Regions from separate parts of the Homo sapiens genome. Here regions 1, 2 and 3 are each linked to region 4. The links are contacts of gene promoters, found by promoter capture Hi-C in blood cells and fetal thymus (Javierre and others, 2016). All regions are on one chromosome and are shown on one strand. Each heading gives the region's core, a stretch centred on a gene start or on the middle of the fragment in contact. The rest is flanking DNA. Distances are from core to core; before and after follow the strand shown. Region 1 has its middle 170 kb from the start of SH3BGRL. Region 2 overlaps LOC124905203 (a long non-coding RNA gene). Region 3 has its middle 190 kb from the start of SH3BGRL. Region 4 holds the start of BRWD3 (bromodomain and WD repeat domain containing 3).

What was found. The method cuts DNA at HindIII sites, captures the fragments that hold promoters and counts their contacts. A CHiCAGO score of 5 or more calls a contact.
Region 1: a fragment that was not itself captured here is called in contact with the fragment with the promoter of BRWD3 in region 4 in 1 of 17 cell types (total CD8 T cells); the score reaches 5.5 in total CD8 T cells.
Region 2: a fragment that was not itself captured here is called in contact with the fragment with the promoter of BRWD3 in region 4 in 1 of 17 cell types (total B cells); the score reaches 5.4 in total B cells.
Region 3: a contact is called between a fragment that was not itself captured here and the fragment with the promoter of BRWD3 in region 4, in 1 of 17 cell types (M1 macrophages). The highest score is 5.1, in M1 macrophages.

What each region holds. Positions count from the first base shown.
Region 1 is chrX:81,368,980-81,371,679 of GRCh38, forward strand. No RefSeq gene overlaps it. Among named protein-coding and RNA genes, the nearest start is that of SH3BGRL, 170 kb to the left of the region's middle. The HindIII fragment of the contact is 4,233 bases long and covers 1-2,700 here.
Region 2 is chrX:81,328,052-81,330,765 of GRCh38, forward strand. It overlaps LOC124905203 (a long non-coding RNA gene), which reads left to right. Exons shown (of 3, transcript XR_007068279.1): 3 at 1-225. Among named protein-coding and RNA genes, the nearest start is that of SH3BGRL, 130 kb to the left of the region's middle. The HindIII fragment of the contact is 514 bases long and covers 1,001-1,514 here.
Region 3 is chrX:81,389,710-81,392,466 of GRCh38, forward strand. No RefSeq gene overlaps it. Among named protein-coding and RNA genes, the nearest start is that of SH3BGRL, 190 kb to the left of the region's middle. The HindIII fragment of the contact is 2,012 bases long and covers 311-2,322 here.
Region 4 is chrX:80,808,611-80,811,384 of GRCh38, forward strand. It overlaps BRWD3 (bromodomain and WD repeat domain containing 3), which reads right to left and starts at 1,267. Exons shown (of 41, transcript NM_153252.5): 1 at 831-1,267; 2 at 636-694; 3 at 403-432. The coding sequence starts at 861. It overlaps LOC124905202 (a long non-coding RNA gene), which reads left to right and starts at 198. Exons shown (of 2, transcript XR_007068278.1): 1 at 198-683. RefSeq lists an enhancer at 1,502-1,581. The HindIII fragment of the contact is 3,163 bases long and covers 748-2,774 here.

The DNA of each region.
Region 1 (2,700 bases), core at 2-2,501, 560 kb after region 4:
CTCTTTTGCTTTGTTTTCAATCTTTATTGCTGTGTGCTTCTTTAAGATCACTTGCTTCTTGATATACTATACAAATGCAGGTTGACTTGGAATTATATATTGCCTGACACCTGTTGACCAAATTAAGTGATCTGAGAGGACCACATTTTGGATGCTGGATATTGATTATCCTGAGCATTTATTCCTGCTTTATATGTCAACTAAAACTTAAAAACTACTGATAGTGCATTGTGCTTCATAAAGAAAGGTATTTCTGTTTCAAACACTGAGGACTTATACTTTAAGGCTCAACTATAAAAAAGTGTCCATGCCCTCAGAAGACCTGTCTATGTGAAGTTTTCTGAATGAGCTTTGCCCATGAACTGAAAATTTTATTACCTATTAAATGCCTGTCTATTTAGCAGGGAGCGTGCTGCTATTATTCATTGTCATTCAGTGATAATAATAGTTACCATTTGGAGTATCTATTATGTGGTACGCACTCTGCTAAGAGCTTTATTCACATTATCTCAATTATTTCAACAACCTTATTATATTATTACCCCTATTTTAGACAGGAGGAAATTAAAATTGAGAAAAGTTAAAAATTTGTCCAAGATTATGCAGCTCATCAGGGTGAGTATTCAAATGAAGTTATTTTGACATCAGAACCTCTGCTTTTAACTAGGGTTGCCAGATGTATCAAATAAAAATACAGGATACTTGGTTAAATTTGAATTTCAGATAATCGACAAATTATATTTTAGTATAAAGTATGTCCTCATGCAATATTTGGGACACACTAATACTAAAACATTATTTCATTATTAATCTGAAGTCCAAATTTAACTGGGCATCCTGGCAACCCTACCTTAAAAACTACCCTATACTTTTCCCAGGGTTATTAAAAAAACAGAGAGAATGTGCAATATAGGGAGTAGTAGAGCAGAACCTGAAGGCAGTTGGTGGAGAATTGAGGGACCCAATGAAGGAGGTAAAGACCAATAATTCTGGAGGCTGTAAATACAAGGTACCATTTATAGAGGCATTACCTTGAAGGAGAGCTTGGGAGAAAGATTTGTCTTCTAGGGACTCTATAGTCTACCAGAGATTTTTTTTTTCCTGTGGTAGGTGTGTAGAGACATCCCTGTTTCAATCCTGTTACACAACTGAATCATGTAATGAAACAGGTGGAAAGAGAGCTGGAAAGAGCAAAGAATGCATAATGAGAATATTTATGTTTTAATAATGTTGCAACTCAGCCACTCACTAACTGCCTGACAAGACACACTGTTTCTCCCAGTCTCAATCTCCTCATCTGGAAAATGAGGATAGCAACACTTGCCCCAACTATATCACAGGAATTTTATGAAAATTAAAGGGAGGTGAGAAGACTTGGTAAGTGGTAAAATATTCTACTAATATAAATCCTTTCGATAAACATCAGCACAATTCTAACAAATTAATTAATCATCATGTTCAAGGTTGGGATGGGGGAAGCATTTATTTTTTGCCAACCTAAAAAATACTTTGAATAAATCCCTTCTGATTACTTAATAGGACCACCTCAAAGTAAAATAAGAGATGAGAGTCCACACAAGCTGCTACTGTTTACTGCTGGGAGTGACAGACTTGTGTGTTCTACAGGGATATATGAAGAGAAAGATTTCTCTGGCTGTTTCCAAATGTTTGAGAAACTTTATAGCATTTTGATTTAAAATAACATTTCTGAACATAAATAAATAAATATTTCTGATAGAGCAGGAAATTTAAGCTGGATGATTTGTAATGAGAAATCATATTGTAAATGCTGGAGGAGAGAAACATAAACTTAGTTTAATTCACAGTACTTTCTATTACACTAAAGTGTAGAGAGACTGGTGAGAACCTTTGTGGAAGAGTTATGGTAGGTTTCAGCAGCAAATGCTGTAGCTATAGTAGTTTATTTTTCTAACTGAATGTAATATTGGCAAAGATTAGGATATCACGTAAAAGAGAGAGCTGACTCCATACTGTCAAGGAAGCATGACAGCAGGACTGTATAATTGGTACAATTTGACTTCTAGCTTCCCCATCCTAGATCCTTTACCTAATAATAATAATAATAGTAATAAAGTTATAAATAACAGAGACTTTACCATTGCAATAGATACTTCACTACCTTGTAAGGATAATTCACTCACCTTATAAGGTGAGGAAAAAATGGGTAGTGTAAGTCAAGGGTCTCATATGATATTGGAACCCCTTGAAGACTCAATAAATTATCAGTGTCATTGTTATTTTATTATATTTATCATTATTCCCATGTTATATATGAAGAAATTGAGATGTGTTCCATCCTGTGACTTGAGGTGCTCAATAATTCAGTTTTTCCATAATCAAAAGCTCATGCCCAGATAAAAGTCATTTCTAATTGAGTGTGATTATGTCAATGTTCTTTCTCCCAGAAGGGTCTGCCTTTATAAACCTAAATTCTCCATGTGTAACAACAGGTTCTGTGCTCCGAAAAGGGCATTCAGGCTTCAGCCAGAAATGGTGTGGGATGAGAATTTGAGTCTCCCATGCTAGTTTCTCAAAAGTCCACTACCTATATAACCCTGAATCTTTTTAGGTCTTAAGTCAGCCCTATGGGGGTAACAGTGTTAGTGCCATTCATTAGGCATGTTATGACTTGAAGCTCAGGAGGATGGGGGTAGAGGGTATGAAAGAAATAGCAAAAGA
Region 2 (2,714 bases), core at 8-2,507, 520 kb after region 4:
ATGTGGGCAGGTCTTCCGAGGGTCTTGGGAGCCCACCCCTCACACCAGTGTGCCCAAGATGTAGGACATCGATGTCAAAGGAGATTGTTCTGGAGCTTTAAGATGTAATATAATCCCAGCAGTTAGAAAGGCCAAGGCAATAGGGTCACATGCGCCCAGGAGTTCAAGACCTTCCTGGGCAACATAGGGAGACCCTGTCTCTGTGAAAAGTAAAACAAATTAGCCTGGCATGGTGGCACACACCTGTGATCCTAGCTACTTAAGATGCTGAGGTAGGAGGGTCAGTAGGGTCCAGGAGATTGAGGCTGCAGTGAGCCATGATCGTGCCACTGCACTCCAGTCTGGGTGACAGAGCAAGACTCTGTCTCAAAAAAAGAAAAAAAAAAGGATTTAATTCTGCATGTCTGCCCTGCTGGGTTTCAGATTTACATGGGGCTTATTTTTTTTTTTTTTTTGGCCTATTTCTCCCTTTTGGAATGGGAAAGTCTACCAAATATCTGTCCCACCATTATATCTTGGAAGTAAATAACTTGCTTTTTATTTTATAGGCTCATAGCTGAAAGGAACTTGCCTGAGTCTTCAATGAGACTGGATTTTGGACTTTAGAGTTAATGCTGGGACAAGTTAAGACTTTTGAGACTACTGAGATGAAATGACGTATGTGAGAAGAATATGAGTTGAGGGGGAGGGGAAGAATGCTTTGGTTTGGATAGCATTTGGATGATTGCTTTGGTCCCACCACAACACCTTGAAATTTGGTCCCCAGTGTGGCAGTGTTGGGAGGAGGGGCCTAGTGAAAGGTGTTTGGGAAATGGAGGAGGATTCCTCGTGAAAGGCTTGGTGCTATTCTTATAGTAGTGAATGTTTTTTGTCATTTATTAATGTGCTTTACATTTATTTGATGTGTTCCTTGTTTTTTTATATTTATGTTACATTGTTTGGAATTGGAAAGGAATTTAAGAGATCATTTGGCCCAGGGATACAAAATGTCTTACATAAAAGCTTCCACACTTATTCCCTTGTCCGTGCCAGATACTGTTTAAATGATTATAGTGATCTTTCCTATGGAGTCTCAGAATTCTTCTGAACACATTACTTTAGGAAGATGCTACCAATCATTAGATCTGGCACAGGAGTTAAAACCTATTTGCTACTTCAATCTAGTCTAGACAATCTCATTTTACCAACAAGGAAACTGAAATACAGAAAAATCAAATGATACCCCAGGACTCAAAACTTGTAACATGCAAAGGAAGAATAATTCTGGTGCTTCTTACTCAATCCAGTGGTATTTCTACTATATGTCTTTTAAGGTCATCTTGAAAGAGAAATTTTCTGAAGTAACAGGAAAATTACTATGAAGTGCACACTTCAAGATTTTCTTGAAAAACGTGCATTTCTGTTTTCAGTGCTAATCAACCCTGGTTATGACTAGTGTCTTAGAAAACACCAAAAAGAGTTGTTTATTTGAACAACATATGATATAAGCCCAGTATGAAATATTTGTTAAGTAAAGCTTTTCTGAGTGAAATAAGTGTGTGTGTGTATTTGTTCTCTCCCCCACTCCATCTCAAGCACCAAGTAACTCTTGGGACCCCCTAAGCCTTTTTAAAGAACAGTTTGAAAGCCATTACACTCGAGAAACAAATGTTTCTGCCTAAAGGAACTGTAAATATTATACATTCATAATTTAAAGTATATTTTTTCAACTCAGATACCATATCTATTTGTCAAACACAAAGAGTCATAGACTGATATTTCCCTGAATTATGCCAATGGACTTCATATATATAACAAACTAGTGATTCATTTTTAATGTACTTGATTAATAAGCAGATTTTATATTGGATTGTTAAATCAGGCAAGTGATACTACAGGAGACTATCTATGGATAAATAAGGCAAAATAATTGAAATATACTTTACTATTTATCCTTTGGGCTGCTACCATTACAAGCACTTATTCTGTGTTAGATATGTTGTACACAGTGCTATTATTTTTCAAAATTAACCTGAAATAAAGTCTCAGCTCAGTATTCTTGACATAGAAGGGAGGGAGTCAGAAAACTCCAGGTCCCAAATGTTCTTTAGCTTGTTACACCCTTCACACACACACAGTCCGAAATAATGTAAAGTAGCCTTAACTTGAGTCATTTATTTTCAACCCATTATAATAATTACCTTCAAACTTTTTGGTTATGATCTCCAGTGAGAAATATACCTTAAATCATGACTCAATAAATAAGTAAATATAGATCTATAAGTATGTAAGACTTTATCTACATCAGTCACTATATACATATTCATAAGCATGTATATCTCCCCATTCATACTGTAATTGGAAAATAAATTTAATGAAACTTCTTTTTTCTTGTCCTACTTTCTCCAATGTAGTTAGCAGTAGCCTGTCAATATCATTATATGCATTAGTTTCACAAAAATGTCCTAAGCTGTCAAATGCATGATAACCCAGAACCTTGCCTTTATAAGTATTTAATTAGAAGTATCCAATGGTCAAATTTTGCATATCTCTATTGACACATCATGCTGTGGACAGAGTGCCCTGTTTATCACTTGAAAGAGAGTCTGTAATGTCTTTAATTTGATTAGAGAAAAATTTCCAGAAAACCCAGAACCAAACCCGAAAATTCATCTTTAAGAAATCATCATATATACCATAAATATATATAATTTTTATTTATCGGTTAAAAAATA
Region 3 (2,757 bases), core at 67-2,566, 580 kb after region 4:
CTGCTACTTGTGGAACTCCAGTTGATAATCTCCTTTCTGGTTTTGGGAAATTCCACTCTCATTTGCTGCCCTTGCTTCTCTCTCCTCAAAATCATACATCCTATTATTTGTTTCCAAGCCAAATCACCTCAGGTTTCTGGAAAAAAAAAAAAACTAAGAAGGTTTAATTGTCTGAAAGCAACTTCTTTTTTCAGTACTGAATTTCATCCCTCCCCTGATACAAGAAGGAACAAGGAAAGGAAAAAATACAGTCAGAACAAAACACATATGTTTTATTGTGGATTGCCTTGAAAGCTAAGCCTTATTCAAAAGCTTTGCATGCACATAGTTTGTTTGCAAAGTTATCTCAGATACTGGTAGTGAAGAACCAGGGAGATTGAAACATGACAGAAGAAAAATTCATTATCATTATGCAGAATCATGTTTGCTGCTGCTATGGATAACTGATGTTCAGTCTGGATGGACTCTTGTGAGGAGACATATAAAATGCACCTCAGAATGGTTTGCCTAAAGGATATTGTCTGTCCATTGACCTCTGATGTGTATTTAGTTGAGGATTGGGCTATTGGGTGTTAAACCTTAGTAATTTTCCTACTGAGCATGTGTGAATGCAGAGTGAGATTCCATAGTCATTCCATGATGTGGTGTCAGAGAAGCCCTGAAACAGAAACTGAGCAATATGTAGGACAGCTGGATATGAGGTGCTGTCAGCATGAAGTGAAATTGAAACTCACATAGTGCTGTTAGGCACTGTATGGCTCAAATCAGATATGAGGGCAAGACAATGTGAGGAAGTGCTCAAGATGACTTTTATAGAGTCTGCCCTTTGCACCACTCACAATCTCTTATTTCCTCCACTACATTTTTAGTGAAGTAGCTAACTGCCTTCTCTACCAAATACAATACATGAAGGCAATTAATGGAATATGCTATTGTCCCTGCTGTTGCAACTGGTCTAAAGTCCATATTGATATTCATTGTCTCACTCTTCTACCTGCAGTTTATTTTTCCCTCACTCTCAGCCATCACTGTAGTTATTACAGGTTGCTTGTCTGGTGGGATGACCAAAAATTTCAGCCTAAAGGGCTTTGGGCCCTTGGTTGACTTGCTTTTGCCAGGCTGTGATATCTGTATTTGTTCATTTATCATTATCATGAGGCATGAATGCACAAAGAAATACCCCAGTATCCTTGGGTTCTAAAAATTTCTCTCTACCTCAATCATGTGACAGTAAACCTAGCTCCACAAGGTGATTTGGGTCAGTTTTCCCCAGTAATATTAACTGTTTTTTTTTCTGCTTTCTGGTGCCTTTCATAAAAAATCCAAAAGAATTAAGTGGCAGATTGTTGTAACTTCATGTTCAATGGCATCCTTCCACTCTCCTTTTGTAGAAGCATTCTCCATTGAAAGCAAAGTCTCAAATCTGGCAGCGTCTAAGGGTTTAGGGATGAATAACCAAAGTCTACAAGTGTTGGAGAGAGGTGGCAATCCCATTGTTGCCTGGAACAATTTATTTCAGCTACTGCGGACACAAAATCATATTATATCAACTATTGTTTTAATGAATATACTACATACTGGAGCATCATGGTCCAACCTTTTAGAGTGAGTTCCCAAATAGAACCTACACTGGGTCTCTGCTAGGCCATTCAACTAAGCGGGCTGATTTCAGATTATATGATACGTGGTAGAACTAGTAACCCTGGGTGTAAGAGCACTAATTTAATTCACCTGCAACAAAGTGGCTGGATGGTATTATACATATCAAGGGCTCAGTGTCAGTCTCTGCTGCTAGCAGATTGGGCATTCAGCATAGAGGTAGCTATATCAACCTTTGTGAGGGGAAACTCATGCCTAGCTTTTATTTCTGCTACCATAGCCACTTTATTCAATGTACCATTAAAAAAGCACTGGGGTAGCTTAGGTGAGAGGCTGGCTGATATCCGTAGGATAAATTATCCTGTTCTCTTAGATATTGAGGAGCTCCTTAACATTAATGTTTGTCACAAACTTCATCCTTCACCCATTCCATAGGTCATCCCTGTACTGCTACTCTAGACCCCCTTGTCTCCAATTTCAGTCTTGCTATTTCTAGATTTCAAACGATCCAGTGAGTACATTTAACACCACCCAGACATCTATGGCTATCCACGCTTCTGGCCATTTCTTGTTCTAGGCTGTATCAGTTAGCTGTTTCTACAAAATAAATCACCTCAAAACCCAGTTGCTTAAAACAGTAAACTTGTATTTTCATTAATAACCCAAAAAAATGTTAGCTAGATAGTTCTGTTTTCCTGGATCAGCGTTGGTTTATTTCATCCAAGCTTGTTCAGGCACCTGCAGTCAACTGGTGGAACAGCTGGGAGATGGCTGGTATAGGAGGGCCTTACTTACGTGTCTGGTAGTTTGTTGCCTGTTGCCTAGGGCAGTTGGAGCCACATGGCAATTATCATCCAGAAGACTGTCTCAGACTTCTTCACATGGTGATACCAGGGTTCTGAAAGACAGAAGAGAAGCTTATTGAGTACTAGGCCCAGAATTGGTACTTATGCTGCATTTAATGAATCAAACAAATCGCCACGCCCACCCATTGTCAAGGAGTGGGGAAATAGACACTATCTTTTAATGGGAGGAGTTGAAAAGTCAGAAACAACAGGGTAAATCATTTCAGTTATTATTGCAATTAATTAACTATACACTAAGTTTATAACCAGGTGTACTAGTTAAAACAACCTCCCTACTTTTGTCCTTTAGAGA
Region 4 (2,774 bases), core at 17-2,516:
CGAAAAGAAAGGGGGAAGCGGAGGCAAATGATGAAGGAAAAGCCTCCGCTCCCCATCAACTGGACCCAACCTGTGTCCCAGTCCTCAACACTTTACCGTCTTTATTTCTCTCGGCCTGATAGCTATTGGCTCAGAGCTAGACAAGTATATGGGGGGGGGGGGGAAGGGGGGTCGAGAAGGAAATCCTGAAAAACTGCCTCCCACAAGCATAAAGCGGGGACGAGTTAAGACCCCAGCGTTGTCTGCCCCTTTTGAGGGAAGAAGCCAATTCACCCCGGTGACAACAGCTACGGGTACCCAGATCGAAGCCTCTATCCCAGCCCGTCTTCCGCCCCTGACTTGCCCTCCCCTTCCTCCAGTCTCACCTCAACCCTCCCCACCCTTCCCGAAGGGGCTCCGTACCTGATGCTCCTCGAGCTCCTGCACTAGCACCTGAGCAAAAGGGAAACACAGATATGAGGAGCAGCTCGGGCCATCAACCCATTCCTCCCTCCACACTTAAAGCCCAGCCGCTGACCGTTTGACTAGTCAAGGCCGGCCTTTCCCTCACCCTCAACGGAACTGCTCGTCCCGCTGCCTCGATTTCCCCACTGGGACCATTCACCACGACTCCCAGATCTCTTTCTTCCCCTTACCTGAGCGGATTTGTTGCAGGGTCCAGACTGCAAGAACCTAGCGATCAGGTAATACAGCTCTGGGGAAGAGGGGGGAAAAGAGGTTCAGAGGGAGGTAGAGAAGAGAAATAGAAGCTTTTTCAAAAGAAACTGACAGCCTTCGCGCTAAGCCCCCATTCCCTTAGCACCCCCCCACCCCCCGACACAGCTACCCACCGGCTTCGATCTGGGTAGGTGCTGCCGCCATCCTTTTCCCGAGGGGGTTTGGGGGCTTCGCTCCGGAGGGGCTGGCGGGGGCGGGTGGGGGCGCTGCCTCTATTGTGGTGAAGCCCCCATGCCCGGGAGTCCCGCCGCTTCCGCCGCACTCCTCGTCCTAGTTTCGCTCTCTCTCGAATTCATCGCATCACGTTTCGACCCATAGATATTCTAGCCCAAGAGCTGAGGAGGCGGAGGAGGAAGGAGAGGAGAGGGAGAGGGAGAGAGAGAGTGAGTGAGTGAGAGAGAGAGAGAGAAGAGAGAGAGAGAGAGAGGAAAAAGAGAGAGAGAGAGAGAGAGAGAGAGAGAGAGAGAGAGAGAGAGACGCGGGGGGTGGGGGGGCGGAGAGAGAGAGAGAGAGAGAGATAGACGGAGCGAGAAGAGGGAGGAGCCGAAGTGGCGAAGAGGTGGGCGGGGGCAAAGGGGGTGGAGAGAGGGGAGGGTAAAAATGGTGATAGGGTTTTGCAGCGCTCATAGTTCCCCGCTAGAGGCACTAATACAGCAGCTGAGCCTAGACTCTCCCGGAGCCCGATGGTTGCTTAGCTACAGCTCTGGGAAGGAGGGGGAGGTGCTAACTGACGGCCGACGCTCTGGCAGCCGCCTTGGAACTCTGTGGTGGCATTCGCGTCTGCGAGCTCCGGAGTGACTTTCCCTTCCTGTGAAGGCAATCCGGCCCTTTCCGGTGGAGGACCCTTCCCCCTGGGTTGATCTTGAGGAACTTAAGAGACGGTGTTTTGACTCGACTCCTTTCCCCTTTTTCCTCCCGGTACCAAAGCGGTTTTGTTTGCTGTTTATACTCTACCCCGTGGAAAGGCGGCTAGCTGGCTAAAGGGTTTTATGCCTGGGGGAGGATGAGTCGCTATTTGGTCGTGACTTGTTTCTGTTTAAAATTATTATTATTTACCAAATGAAAATGTTGTACTTACCAGTCCAAAGTGCGGGGCTTATATTGTTAGAAGACCACTTAAAATGCTCCTGGATTCTGACAAATATTGCATGAGAAATTTGCAATCAGCCGTGAAGCATGTTTCCCCTTCTGAAAGTTTAACACGTGCCGTATCTACGGCTGGGATCTAACACATCCCATTCCTACAGGGTAATTTCCTATTGTGTTTTCAAATACTACTAAAGTACTTTAACCAAGAGTTTTCAATAATCTTTATGTATTATTGCCTATCTCTATGCAAGGTATCAATAGTTTTCTACAGGTTCGGGACTACACTGTTTAATATATAACCCCAACCCTTGGTACCGCACTGACCTTCAGTATTTGGTTGCTGAAATCTTCAATGATGAAAGGGGTTGGTATGATAATTGACACAGATTAGTAAACCGGGTCCTTTTCTTCCCTACTTTCCCGTAACATCCTGTCCCCACCCCACTCCCTCACCTAAACCTGATGAGACCAGAAATGCATTTTAAGTTGCATGTATTATTTACATTGAAATATTACAATTTGAAGGTTCATCTAAATTTAAGGCTATATTCTTGGGAATTGGGTTTCCTCACTCAGCTCTGCCACTGACCACAGTGGGCCTTGAATTTCTAAGTTGACATAAACTTAGCCTAGGTTGATTAGCTCTCACTTGTAATTTTTTTTTTTCCTCAGAAAGCAATAACCACAGGAGGTAATTGTGAAGTGATAGGCTTATCTTTGGTTGTTATTGCCATGGAACTTGACAAAACAAATATGAATAATTGATACAACAAAATGATATAAAAAGATACATGAGACCTAGACAACTCATTGCAAGTAGTTTAGCAAAATACCAGACTGAATAATTTTATAGTTGAAGTATAATGTACAGGTTGAGTATTCTTTATCCAAAGTGCTTGGGACCAGAAATGTTTTGGATTTTGGACTTTTTCAGATTTTGGAATATTTGCATATACATAATGAGATAT